5 separate regions of the Homo sapiens genome follow, and regions 1, 2, 3 and 4 are each linked to region 5. Evidence: promoter capture Hi-C in human tissues and cell types (Jung and others, 2019). All regions are on one chromosome and are shown on one strand. Each heading gives the region's core, a stretch centred on a gene start or on the middle of the fragment in contact. The rest is flanking DNA. Distances are from core to core; before and after follow the strand shown. Region 1 overlaps FAM114A1 (family with sequence similarity 114 member A1). Region 2 overlaps PDS5A (PDS5 cohesin associated factor A). Region 3 overlaps PDS5A (PDS5 cohesin associated factor A). Region 4 overlaps FAM114A1 (family with sequence similarity 114 member A1). Region 5 holds the start of KLB (klotho beta).

The links. The method cuts DNA at HindIII sites, captures the fragments that hold promoters and counts their contacts. A contact is called where the count stands out against the background at its distance.
Region 1: a contact is called between a fragment that was not itself captured here and the fragment with the promoter of KLB in region 5, in 1 of the 25 tissues and cell types used here (liver).
Region 2: a fragment that was not itself captured here is called in contact with the fragment with the promoter of KLB in region 5 in 1 of the 25 tissues and cell types used here (stomach).
Region 3: a fragment that was not itself captured here is called in contact with the fragment with the promoter of KLB in region 5 in 2 of the 25 tissues and cell types used here (dorsolateral prefrontal cortex and heart right ventricle).
Region 4: a fragment that was not itself captured here is called in contact with the fragment with the promoter of KLB in region 5 in 1 of the 25 tissues and cell types used here (lymphoblastoid cells).

Annotation. Positions count from the first base shown.
Region 1 is chr4:38,890,698-38,893,397 of GRCh38, forward strand. It overlaps FAM114A1 (family with sequence similarity 114 member A1), which reads left to right. Exons shown (of 15, transcript NM_138389.4): 4 at 1,046-1,133. Among named protein-coding and RNA genes, the nearest start is that of MIR574, 24 kb to the left of the region's middle. RefSeq lists an enhancer at 246-415. The HindIII fragment of the contact is 5,098 bases long and covers 1-2,700 here.
Region 2 is chr4:39,954,402-39,957,101 of GRCh38, forward strand. All of the region lies in intron 2 of PDS5A (PDS5 cohesin associated factor A), which reads right to left. Among named protein-coding and RNA genes, the nearest start is that of PDS5A, 22 kb to the right of the region's middle. The HindIII fragment of the contact is 7,115 bases long and covers 1-2,700 here.
Region 3 is chr4:39,936,852-39,939,551 of GRCh38, forward strand. All of the region lies in intron 2 of PDS5A (PDS5 cohesin associated factor A), which reads right to left. It also overlaps the pseudogene RNA5SP159. Among named protein-coding and RNA genes, the nearest start is that of PDS5A, 40 kb to the right of the region's middle. The HindIII fragment of the contact is 6,528 bases long and covers 1-2,700 here.
Region 4 is chr4:38,874,040-38,876,739 of GRCh38, forward strand. All of the region lies in intron 2 of FAM114A1 (family with sequence similarity 114 member A1), which reads left to right. Among named protein-coding and RNA genes, the nearest start is that of MIR574, 7.4 kb to the left of the region's middle. The HindIII fragment of the contact is 3,064 bases long and covers 1-2,700 here.
Region 5 is chr4:39,405,644-39,408,343 of GRCh38, forward strand. KLB (klotho beta) reads left to right here and starts at 1,287. Exons shown (of 5, transcript NM_175737.4): 1 at 1,287-2,131. The coding sequence starts at 1,307. The HindIII fragment of the contact is 19,436 bases long and covers 1-2,120 here.

The DNA of each region.
Region 1 (2,700 bases), core at 1-2,500, 510 kb before region 5:
TGGTTGCAAGTAACAGAAACACGCATACCTGAGAAAATGGATGAGTTTCAGCCATTTATTCAACAAATATTTATTAAGCATTCATTATATTCCAAGCACTCTTCTAAGCTCTGAGAGTATATCAGTGAATAAAACATTTAAAAAAATGAACAAGAATATGAGAGAATCTCATAGAACCCAAAGATCAGAAAGCAGCAGGGCCTTCAGAGGGACAGAAACCAGGGACTGAGAAGCTGTCAGGAATCCAAACAGCAGCTCTAAGCCAGTCTCCATTCTGCTCACTCTGCCTTCTCTTAATTCTTAGTCTGCGTGGTGGATATAACAGGGTCATCCACATAGCCTGAGTTTTCAACTTCTGTTCATGCACACAGTTCACACTGAACCACAGTCTCTCAGTTCCAATTCCAAAAACCTAGGCAAACGAATTGGAATCCACTGAGGTCAGGGACAGTCTTATCCCTGTGTTATAGGAGTCACTATGAGTGAAGCAGGGCACCTTGAATCAAAGGTTTCTACCTTGCAAGCCTTCCTGTCACTACTGCCCATCCATCGCCAGGTGTATTGACGCTTTTTAGACACTTTGCCCATCATCCATGCCAAAGCACCTGCCTACTGCCCCAGAGTTTAAAAGTTAACTCTACCTTGAAGAGCACATTTTTTAAGCCCTGTAAGAATTGCCTGGGTCCAGATCATTTTGAACTTTTTCAAATCCCTCTTGTGCCCTCATGCGTATCTTTTTCCCATGCAGCCTTTTCCCTGTCTTCTAAATAATAAGAGAGAATCGAGGCTCAGTTAACATCAAACTCCCTTCTCACTTCAAACCAAGCCTTCAGAAGCCAACATCAGCACTAATCAATTTGGTTCCAAAGTACACATTGCAGTGTGGTTTGGGATATTCTTTTATGACCCTTATAAACTATAAGCCAATTAGATACGGTTGTTGGTGATTCTTTTCCAAACCTCCTCTTTGTTTCAAACCAATAGGTGTTTTTCCATTCAGAGATATACTGAATTTCTGACCTGTGGCTAATTTGTTTTTCTCCAGGCTGTGGATTCCCCTCCAAGTGGAGGAGGATGGGCAGGCTGGGGATCCTGGGGCAAATCTCTGCTGTCGTCAGCATCTGCCACAGTAGGTAAGCATTGTATGTTGCATTGGAATAGACAAAGTACCAAAGCCTAATAGGATAGGACGTTTTGATCGTACTGTATACTAATAGAGTTTAACATTAGCCCGTGAGCAAACCATGTTTAGTGCTTACTATTCTAAGTGCTTCATTTATTCCTCCAATACATTTGTTCCTCAAAATAACCCTATATGGAGGAACTGTTGTTTGCTGCACTTTACAGGTAAGGAAGCTAATCAGAGAGAGACTAAGACCTTGACCAAAGTCAGGAATGTCTGGGTTGCAATTTAAAAGCCAAGTAGTATGGCTTTTAGCCACTATATTATATGGTCTTTTAAAGTATAATATATTCTTAAAGCTTCGTGTTTATCGTCCCACTTGAATTTTTTTAGTGCACAACGCATCTACTCCCAAAAAGGATTTGAGATATCTTGATAAAAGGCATTTCATTAGCAGGATATTACAATATAAGGAGAAAACAATGTGCTGGTAGGGAGGATACATATTTTATACATCCCATGGCTAATAGAGTTTTTGTAATTGAGTATTGACCTCAACTCTGAGCTTCTTGGCTGCCAGTACATTATTTATTTCTCTTTGAAAACAAAATTTTAATTTAAATAAATATATTTTTCTGGTTTTAAATTTTTAAAGAAATTTCCTGTATTTGTTCTTATACAAAGAGAAAATATGATGGACAGTGTAGTGTCTTCCTGAGTGCAAATTTGTCATGATATTCTTCATGTTACCATTTCTTATATTCTCTCTTCATGAGAACTGAAGGTATAACATCAATATGTCTAAGATAATTTAGCAAAGGCATTTCATCTTGAAGGTGGAAGATAAGAAGATAGGGGAAGCCACAGGTAACAGAGTTTTCACATCATCCACTTCAGGTATTCTAAGGTGCAGTCCATGGCCATGAGGACCTTGCGATAGGCCATGAATTGGTCCACTTCACTGTTACTCCTAAAACCAGGAAGGTCTTCAGGCCTTTTGCCCCACCCCAGTGGACCATGACCACAGTGTTAAGGGCCAGATATCTAACTTGACAGAGCTTAGGCTGCCTGGAAGAATGGATAGATTGCATTCCTCTAATTCCATCTCTGTCAAATATCAGTTTGCTCAGGAAGGCTCTGGGAAGAAGTAGCAATGGCCAAATAAATGTTGACCTCTCTGGTAAGCCTGGAGAGCAGATTTTCTCTATTGCTTATTAAGGGGATGGCTATGCCTTGAGTACCACATATGCAGATGACAAATTTAACTAAATTCAAGTAGAGGCGCCTGTTTTGTTTTCTGAACAGGATGCTATCTCTTCACAAGGGTGAGGACAAGCACCTGCAGGCATCCTCTGTCCTTGGAAAAATGTTTGAACTTAGTGGCTATCAAAAGGATCTTGCCACTGGTGGCACTTAGAAGTGACATGCTTTCTAAGCCAAAAACTAAAAAGGAGGTTCTAAAAGATTGTTTTAATTGGAATAAGTCATGAAAAAGTAAATAATATGGTCACTAAAATTATACAGCTCTTCTCGTGGTTTATATCATAAAACAGTCATGTGTCCTGGATGTTTCCAGT
Region 2 (2,700 bases), core at 92-2,591, 550 kb after region 5:
TCCACCTCCCAGGTTCAAGCGAGTCTCCTGCCTCGGCCTCCTGAGTAGCTGGGATTACGGGCATGTGCCACCACCCTCGGCTAATTTTTGTATTATTTTAGTAGAGGTGGGGTTTCACCATGATGGCCAGGCTGGTCTTGAACTCCTGACCTCAGGTGATCCACCCGCCTTGGCCTCTCAAAGTGCTGGGATTACAGGTGTTAGCCACCGTGCCCAGCCTGAAATACATTGTCAAGACATAAATAAGTACCCATTGTCAAGAGATAAGTAAAAAAAAAAAAAAAAAAAAAAAAAAACAGAAACAGAGGTGGACCAAACGCTAAAGCTATCAGACAGAGACGTTAAAATAACTATGAGGCCAGGCAGAGAGCCTCATGCCTGTTAATAGGCATGAACACTTTGGGAGGCTGAGGCAGGAGGATCACGTGAGTCCAGGAGTTTGAGACCTGGGCAACATGACAAACCCCGTGTCTACAAACAATACAAAAATTAGCTAGGCGTGGTAGCACATGCCTGTAGTCTCTACTACTTGGGAGGCTGAGATGGGAGGATGGCTTGAACCCAGGAGGTGGAGGCAGCAGTGAGCCATGATCATGAAACTGAACGCCAGCCAGCCTGGGTGACAGAGCGAGACCCTGTCACAAACAAAAAATATAAATAAATAAATAAAGCATGCTGATTATCATCAGGATTTAAAGTAAATCAGCACTTAGAGCTCACCCTGGCCAAACAAGAAAAGCCAAAATTAGGAATATTAAAGGACAATATGCTAAATCTAACTTAGAGTTTAAACCAAGAGCATTACATGAATAGAACATTTGGGATTTACCATGCTGAAAAATATACAAGGAAACAATACACGAATATGGACTTTGAGTGATAATGTTGTGATGTTGGTTTAGAAATATAGCACTCTAGGGCCGGGCGTGGTGGCTCAAACCTGTAATCCCAGCACTTTGGGAGGCTGAGGTGGGCAGATCACCTGAAATCAGGAGTTCGAGACCAGCCTGACCAACATGGTGAAACCCCGTCTCTACCAAAAATACAAAAAATTACCCAGGTGTCGTGGCGGATGCTTGTAATCCCAGCTTGGGAGGCTGAGGTGGGAGAACTGCTTGAACCCGGGGGAGCGGAGGTTGCAGTGAGCTGAGATCATGCTACTGTGCTCCAGCCCGGGTGACAGAGCGAGACTCTGTCATAAAAAAACAACAACAAAACAAACAAATGTACCACTCTGGAAGGTGACTGAGGGGAGGCATTACTGTGGGAGGCATGTGTGACTGGGGAGGGGAAGTCTTCCTGGGGGACGGGAGTGTTACTGAGGAGTGAGTCCAGGGGGTTTGTTGGGAATACTCTGTACATTCCAGCAATTTGGCTGTGAACCTAAAACTGCCCTAAAAAAAAAAGTCTGTTTAAAAATTTGAACAGTTAAGGCCGGTGTGGTGGTTCACACCTGTAATCACAGCACTTTGGGGGGCCAAGGCAGGTGGATTACCTGAGGTCAGGAGTTCGAGACCAGCCTGGCCAACATGGCGAAACCCCATCTCTACTAAAAATACAAAAATTAGCCAGACATGGTGGTGGCACACACCTGTAGTCCCAGCTGCTCGGGAGGCTGACGTGGGAGGATTGCTTGAACATGGGAGGCAGAGGTTGCAGTGAGCTGCGATCTCGCCACTGCACTCCAGCTTAAGAAACAGACTGAGACTGCCTCTCAAAAAAAAAAAAGAACAATTTTAAAAAACAGTATAAGAAAAACGTATAGAACAATTGAGATAGCAGCAGTGGATTACAGTATTAAACATTTGGCAGGGTGCGATGGCTCACACCTGTAATCCCAGCACTTTTGGGAGGCTATGGCAGGCAAATCACTTGAGATCAAGAGTTGGAGACTAGCCCGGCCAACATGCTGAAACCCTATGTTTACCAAAAAATACAAAAATTAGCCAGGTATGGTGGCTCATGCCTGTAGTCCCAGCTACTTGGGAGGCTGAGGTGGGAGGATCGCTTGAACCCAGGAGGCAGAAGTTGCAGTGAGCCAAGATTGCGCCACTGCACTCTAGCCTGGGTGACAGAGCGAGACTGTCTCAAAAAAAAAAAAAAAAAAAGTCTGATAAAATATCAAGGAAATATGAGAACTGAACACAGCAAACAAAGCTATACAACATTATTTCAAAAACATCTAAAGACAATTTTATTTTATTACTACCTGGTTTTTACCCTTTCTTCAAAGCTTTATAGGTATATGCTTCAAGAAGAAAGACAGATTTTCTTACTTTTTTTTTTTTGGAGACAGGTTCTCACTCTGTCACCCAGGCTGGAGTGCTGCGGCACAATTATGGTTCACTGTACACTTAATCTCCTTGGCTTAAACAATCCTCCTGCCTCAGCCTCCAGAGTGGGCAGGACTATAGGCGCCTGCACCACATCCAGCTAATTTTTGTATTTTTTGTAGAGAAGAGGTTTTGCCATGTTGCCCGCGCTAGTCTCAAACTCCTGGCCTCAAGTGATCTGCCTTGCCTCAGCCTCCCAAAGTGCTGGGATTACAGGCGTGAGCCACCTCACCCAGCCAAAAGACATTTTCTAAATAACTTCTGCCAGAAACAAAGTATTCTCTTTATCTACACTGACTCAATCTTCATGAATCTTAGGAAAAATTTTTATTCAATGATTTTCTTTTCACACACAAGGAATCCACCT
Region 3 (2,700 bases), core at 87-2,586, 530 kb after region 5:
AGCTAGAAGGAAAAAGAAAGAAACAGAAAATAACAAGGTGGAAGAAAAGTATGTAACTCAAGAACAGTCAAACTGAAGAGACACATCAGCCAAAGTCTTGGGGGTGAAGAGGGGTGTGTGGATGGGATGGGGACACAGAGCTTCGTATACTCTTCTCATTGAATCTGGACATGTAATCCTCCCAGCATATCACTGTGTTCACCAACCACTAACCTCCCCTGAGCTTTAGTGTTCACAGGATTCACTGGGCTTTATGACGCAGGCATGAATGATAAAATCAAGACTGAACTCAATCTCCAGCCTCCCTCTTCTCCTGGGAGAAAGTTTCAATCCTCTAATTTAAGTGACCAGCCCCATCCTGAAGCTATCTAGTGGCACTGCCAGGAGCTGCCTCATTAGCGTAACAAAGACACTCTCACTTGGGAAATTCCAAGGGTTTTTGAGGCTCTGTGCCAAGAATCAGAACAAAGATCAGATCGATTATTATATGTCATATAATTTAAATATGTCCAAATTATTGTTCAGTAATTCAATTACACCTCAATACAGCTATTAAAAATTTTTTTTAATTTTATTTTTTGAGAAAGGTTCTCACTTTGTCGCCCAGGCTGGACTGCAGTGGTGTGATCAGGGATTACAACAGCCTCAACCTCCCTGGCTCAAGTGATCCTCCTGCCTCGGTCTCCTGAGTAGCTGGGACCACAGACGAATGCCACCATGTGCAACTAATTTTTATTTATTATTATTGGTAGAGATGGGGTCTTGTTATGTTGCCTAGGCTGGTCTCCAACTCTTGGCCTCAGGTGATTCTCCTGCCTTGACTTCCCAAAGTGGTGTAAGCCACTGTGTCCAGCCAAATGAACTTTTTGTAAGTCCAACATAGCAAATGAGAACTCTCACTCACTTTTTAATTGAAATGTAAATTGGTAGAACCACTTTGCTGCTTTCAGTTAAGTAGAAGACATACATGCCCAATGATTCAACAATTTCACCTCTGGTGGTGCCCTAAAGCAGCTAGAGTATGTATACAAGGATGACTGGAGTGTTAAGTTTAGCCTAAAGCTGCTTCCTTGCATAAATTCAGCCTAAAGGATTCTCCATACATAGTGAGCTGTACCTAACCAGATTGTAAAAAGACTGTAACCTACTCTCCTACCAATCACACAGAATTGTGGCCAATCACAGGTGGCTGACTGTTCAAACCGTGATCAAATAAGGCAAACACTGAGCTGTAACCAATTCACCTATTTCTATACCTCACTTTCGTTTTCTGTATATCACTTTCCTTTTTCTGTCCATAAATGTTATCTGACCACTTGGCAGCTCTGGAACTGTTCTGAACCTACTCAAGTTTGGAGGGGGCTGCCCAGTTTGTGAATCATTCTTTGCTCAATTAAATTCTGTTAAATTTAATGTGTCTGGGCCGGGCACGGTGGCTCACACCTGTAATCCTAGCACTTTGGGAGGCCGAGGTGGGTGGATCACCCGAGGTCAGGAGTTGAAGACCAGCCTGGCCAACATGGTGAAAACCCATCTCTACTAAAAATACAAAAATCAGCCAGGCGTGGTGGCAGGTGCCTGTAATCCCAGCTACTCGGGAGGCTGAGGCAGGAGAATCACTTGAACCGGGAGGCGGAGGTTGTAGTGAGCCAAGATCGTGCCACTGCACTCCAGCCGGGGTGACAGAGCAAGACTCTGTCTCAAAAAATACATATATATATATGTCTGAAGTTTTTATTTTAACAACAGCAATGTGGTTTGTAAAAGCCAAAAAACTACAAGTGAAAAATGTCAATAGAAGACTGATTAAACTGTATAATGAAATACTATATAAGTTAGGCCAGGCGCAGTAGCTCATGCCTGTAATCCCAGCACTTTGGGAGGCTGAGGCCGATGGATCACAAGGTCAGGAGATCAAGACCATCCTGGCCAACATGGTGAAACCCCATCTCTACTAAAAATACAAAAATTAGCTGGGCGTGGTGGCGCATGCCTGTAATTCCAGCTACTCAGGAGGCTGAGGCAGAAGAATCGCTTGAACCAGGGAGTCCGAGGTTGCAGTGAGCCAAGATCACACCACCGCACTCCAGCCTGGCAACACAGCGAGACTCCATCTAAAAAAAAAAAGCAATAATACAAAACTCAAACATAACACTGAAGACACAGTAACACAAGGAACCATATAGTATGATTCTAGCCATATAAAATTGAAAAAGTAAAACTAGAAAAAAGCCAGTCATGTTGGCCAATACCTGTAGTCCCAGCTACTTGGGAGGCTGAGGCAAGAGGATGGCTTGAGCCTAGATCAAGGCTATGGCTGAGCTATAGTTGTACATTGTACAGTGGCTCATGCCCGTAATCACACTTTGGGAGGGCGAGGCAGGAAAATCGCTTGAGCCCAAGTGTTGGAGACCAACCTGGGCAACATAACAAGACCTCATCTCTACCAATAATAATAAATAAAAATTAGCTGTGCATGGAGACATGCGCCTGTAGTCCCAGCTACTCAAGAGAATGAGATGGGAGGATCGCTTGAACCTAGGAGGGTGAGGCTGTAATGACCTCTGATCACACCACTGCAGTCCAGCCTGGGCGACAGAGTGAGACCCTTTCTCAAAACCTAAAATGAAAAAAAAAATTTTTTTTAAATAGCTTTACTGCGGCTGGGCAAAGTGGCTCACGCCTTAATTCCAGCACTAT
Region 4 (2,700 bases), core at 153-2,652, 530 kb before region 5:
TCTCAATAAAGAGCCTCTAGGATTTGGCCACTGACTGAATGTAAGAAAAGAGGCAGATGGCATTGCTGATAGGGCTCTGATGTGGTTCAGTCTCAAAGTCAGACACGGGTTCAAATTTCAAATGTAGAATTTACTAAAAGTGTGACTTCTGAGCTTCAGTTTCCTCGTCTGTAAAATGGAGCTGATAACATTCAACTCACAGGAGATAATACATTTAAAGAGCATGGATACAGTAAGCACTCAATAAATGATAGCTGTTGATACTATATATTCTTGAGAGGGTGAAAGCGTGGTAAATGACAGCTCTGAGTTATTGGGAAAATCTATGTGTGAGATGGTGTCTCATTATGGTTTTTATTTGCATTTCTCTAATGATTAGTGGTGGTGTGCATTTTTTCATATGCTTGTTGGCCACCTATATGTTTTCTTTTGAGAAGTACCTATTTATGTCATTTGCCCATTTTTTAATGGTTTTTGTTTTGTTTTTTGCTTGTTGATTTAAGTTCCTTACAGATTCTGGATATTAGACCTTTGTCACATGCATAGTTGCAAATATTTTCTGCCATTATGTAAGTTGTCTATTTATTCTGTTGGTAGTTTCTTTTGCTGTGTAGAAGCTCTTTTGTTTAATTAGCTCCCACTTGTCAATTTTTGTTTTTGCTGCAATTGCTTTTGGAGTCTTTGTCATGAAATCTTTGCCAGGGCCGATATCCAGGATAGTGTTTCCTATGTTCCTAGGTTTTCTTCTAGAGTTTTTATAGTTTTGGGTTTTACATTTAAGTCTTTAGTCCATCTTGAGTTTATTTTTGTATATGGTATAAGGAAGGGGAACAGTTTCAATCTTCTGCATATGGCTGGCCAGTTATCCCAGCACAATTTATTGAATAGGGAGTCCGTTCCCCATTGTTTGTCATTGTTGGCTTTGTCAAAGATCAGATGGTTTAGGTGTGTGGCTTTATTTCAGAGTTCTCTATTCTGTTCTGTTGGCTTATGTGTTTTATTTTTGTGCCAGTACCATGGTGTTTTGGTTACTATAACCTTGTAGTATAGTTTGAAGTTGGGTAGTGTGATGTCTCCAGCTTTGTTCTTTTTGCTTAGGAATGCTTTGTCTATTTGGGCCCTTTTTTGGTTCCACATGAATTTTAGAATATTTTTTTCTAATTCTATGAAAAACATCATTGGTAGTTTGATAAGAATAGCATTGAATCTGTACATTGCTTTGGGTAGTATGGCCATTTTAACAATAATGATTCTTCCTATCCATGAGCATGGAAAATTTTTCCATTTGTGTCATCTCTGATTTCTTTGAGCATTGTTTTGTAATTCTCATTGTGGAGCTCTTTCATCTCCCTGATTAGCTGTATTCCTACGTATTTTGTTCTTTTTGTGGCTATTGTGAATGGAATTGCATTCTTGATTTCACCGTCAGCTTGGACATTATTGGTGTATAGAAATGCTACTGATTTTTGTACATTGATTTTGTATCTTGAAACTTTGCTGAAGTTGTTTATCAGATCTAGGAGCCTTTGGGCAGAGACTATGGGATTTTCTAGGTGTAGAATCATATCATCTGCAAAGATAGTTTGTCTTCCTCTCTTCCTATTTTATTTCGTTCTCTTGTCTGATTGCTCTGGCTAGGACTTCCACTATTGTGTTGAATAGAAGTAGTAAGAGTGGGTATCCTCGTCTTGTTCTGGTTCCTAAGGGGAATGCTTCCAGTTTTTGCCCCTTCGGTATGATGTTAGCTGTGGGTTTGTCATAAAAGGCTCTTATTACTTTGAGATATGTTCCTTCAATGCTTAGTTTGTTGAGACAGAACATTTTTATCACCACCGAAAGTTCCATTGAATAGTGCTGTTCTACATGATATCAATAATTTGTAAGCTTTAAAAGAGTTTTCTGCTTTAATGGCTACATTCCTTATTTGGTTTCTACCTCACTTCTTACCCTTTAAGTTTATCCTTGACTAAACCATGGTCTAGACCTTCATCAGCTGGTCCCCAACAAGGAATACTGTGTGTGTATAGGTCTCTTTCTCACTGTGAATTTCTGACAAAGATGTTACAAAGCTAAATGGCAAGTATTTTTTTTGATAAGTGCTCAGGTATTTTCTAGACTTATTCTTTTTTCTTTTTTTTTTTTTTTTTTTTGAGACGGTCTCGCTTTGTCGCCCAGGCTGGAGTGCAGTGACACGATCTCAGCTCACTGCAACCTCCACCCCCCAGGTTCAAGCAATTATTGTGCCTCAGCCTCCTAAGTAGCTGGGACTACAGGTGCATGCCACCATGCCCAGCTAATTTTTGTATTTTTAGTAGAGACAGGGTTTCACCATGTTGGCCTTGGCTGGTCTTGAACTCCTGGCCTCATGTGATTCACCCACCTCAGCCTACCAAAGTGCTGGGATTACAGGTGTGAGCCATTGCACCCTGCCTTCCTATGCTTATTCTCATTATTGCTACAAATATAATTAATAAAGCCAGAGTCAATAATTTTAAAGATACAGGTATTACTCTTAGTTCCCATAGGCGTAGTCTTTCATGCCAAGTAAGAGCTCCAGGAAAGTTTAAAGATAGCCCTGTAGGTTTCTGTTAGCTTCCTATCAGTGCTGTGACAAATTACAACTAACTTCACGGCTTTTGCCAACACAGACTTATTCTCTTGGAGTTCTGGAGGTCAGAAGTCTGAAATCAGTGTCCATGG
Region 5 (2,700 bases), core at 37-2,536:
TTGCCCAGGCTGGAGTGCGGTGGTGCGATCTCAGCTCACTACAACCTCCACGTCCCAGGTTCAAGAGATTCTCCTGCCTCAGCCTCCCAGGTAGCTGGGATTACAGGTGCCCACCACCGTGCCCAGCTAATTGTATTTTTAATAGAGACGGGGTTTCAACATGTTGGCTAGGCTGGTCTCAAACTCCTGACCCCAAGTGATCTGCCTGCCTTGGCCTCCCAAAGTGGTGGGATTATAGCCATGAATCACTGTGCCTGGCCTTTCGTAATAATTTTCTTGAACTAAAATTTGGGATTAGGCCAGGCATGGTGGCTCACACCTATAATCCCAAGCACTTTAGGAGGCCGAGGCAGAAGGGCTGTTTGAGCCCAGGAGTTCAGGACCAGCCTGGGGGACATAGCTAGACCCCACCTCTACCAAAAAATCAAAAATCAGCTGGGCATGGTGGCATGTGCCTGTTGTCCCAGCTACTTGGAGGCTGAGGAGGGAGGATTGCTTAAGCCTGGGAAGTTGAGGCTGCGGTGAGCTGTGATGACACCACTGCACTCCAGCCTAGGCTACAAAGCAAGACTCTTATTAAAAATTAATTAATTAATTAAAAAATTAGAGATTAGAGAATTTTAGTTAAGTTAAATAAATAAAATAAAAAATAAAATTAGAGATTAGAGGATTTTAGTTAAGTTAAATGTATTAAATTGAAAAGTATTTCATTTTTCCATCCACAAAGTGCTATATTTTCTCATTCAAGTCTTCTCTCAAATCTACCAATACATTTTTGCAATTTTCCTAAAATAGGTAACATTTATTAAGATTGTTCTTAGATGCGTTATAATTTTGTGGAGAAGTGTAATTTCTTATTGTGTTTTCTAATTCTTTACTATTGGTATGTAGGAATGCTATATACTTGTATATGTTATTTTTCTTGATATATGAGATTATAAAATTACCACACAAAAACTCTAAAAATAGAAAAGCTATATACCTTATTCAATAATGTTCAAAACATTCAGAAAAGATTTGGGTCAATATGAAAGGCTACACGGAAAATAATGTGATTTTAATCCAGTGTTTACATATGTGTTAGTTACACATTCAAACTCTTGTCACCGATGCATTTTCATCTAATTTTTTCCATAATGAGAGAGAAGGAGACGCGTTGGTGACTGCAATAGGGCCACCTCCCTCAAATTACGTTGCTCTCTATGACCCATCCTCAGTCTCCCAGTTCAAGCTAATCATTGACAGAGCTTTACAATCACAAGCTTTTACTGAAGCTTTGATAAGACAGTCCAGCAGTTGGTGGCAAATGAAGCCAGGCTGTGCGGCAGGATCTCCAGGGAATGAATGGATTTTCTTCAGCACTGATGAAATAACCACACGCTATAGGAATACAATGTCCAACGGGGGATTGCAAAGATCTGTCATCCTGTCAGCACTTATTCTGCTACGAGCTGTTACTGGATTCTCTGGAGATGGAAGAGCTATATGGTCTAAAAATCCTAATTTTACTCCGGTAAATGAAAGTCAGCTGTTTCTCTATGACACTTTCCCTAAAAACTTTTTCTGGGGTATTGGGACTGGAGCATTGCAAGTGGAAGGGAGTTGGAAGAAGGATGGAAAAGGACCTTCTATATGGGATCATTTCATCCACACACACCTTAAAAATGTCAGCAGCACGAATGGTTCCAGTGACAGTTATATTTTTCTGGAAAAAGACTTATCAGCCCTGGATTTTATAGGAGTTTCTTTTTATCAATTTTCAATTTCCTGGCCAAGGCTTTTCCCCGATGGAATAGTAACAGTTGCCAACGCAAAAGGTCTGCAGTACTACAGTACTCTTCTGGACGCTCTAGTGCTTAGAAACATTGAACCTATAGTTACTTTATACCACTGGGATTTGCCTTTGGCACTACAAGAAAAATATGGGGGGTGGAAAAATGATACCATAATAGATATCTTCAATGACTATGCCACATACTGTTTCCAGATGTTTGGGGACCGTGTCAAATATTGGATTACAATTCACAACCCATATCTAGTGGCTTGGCATGGGTATGGGACAGGTATGCATGCCCCTGGAGAGAAGGGAAATTTAGCAGCTGTCTACACTGTGGGACACAACTTGATCAAGGTACTGTACAGCTAGCTTCTTCTTATAGCTTCAGAAAACACTAAGAATTTAAGAATTTACCTTCTGCCTCAGTAATTCTCTTCACTGAAATCAAGGCAACTGATTTTAAGCTAATTCAAAAGATCTATCCTCAAATTTTGCATTTAAGTTAGTGTATGTTTTATTTATCTAAGGTATTTTTAATGTATTAATCCAATTAGTTTTTTCAAAAGTTGCACTTTGAGGCTATTTTTAAATCTACCATTATACACTACAGTGTGAATATATGAGCTTACTTTCATTCTGTGGGAAAACAGTGCTTCATAAATTTAATTGTTGGAACCCTTTTCTGACAACATGCAATCATTTCAGAATTATCTTAAGGCACAACCATTTCAAATATGTATTTGTTGTTAAGTATAGCTAACTTAGCTAATAAGTAAATAAAGTAAGTAAATAAGTAAGCCAAATAAATGTTAGCTAACTCATGCATATTAAATACAGAAATTTAAATATACTTCACTTTTGATTTTATTTGTGTTACATAGCAAAAAAGAGAAGATTAATTGTTATGGGAGCTAAACACATTT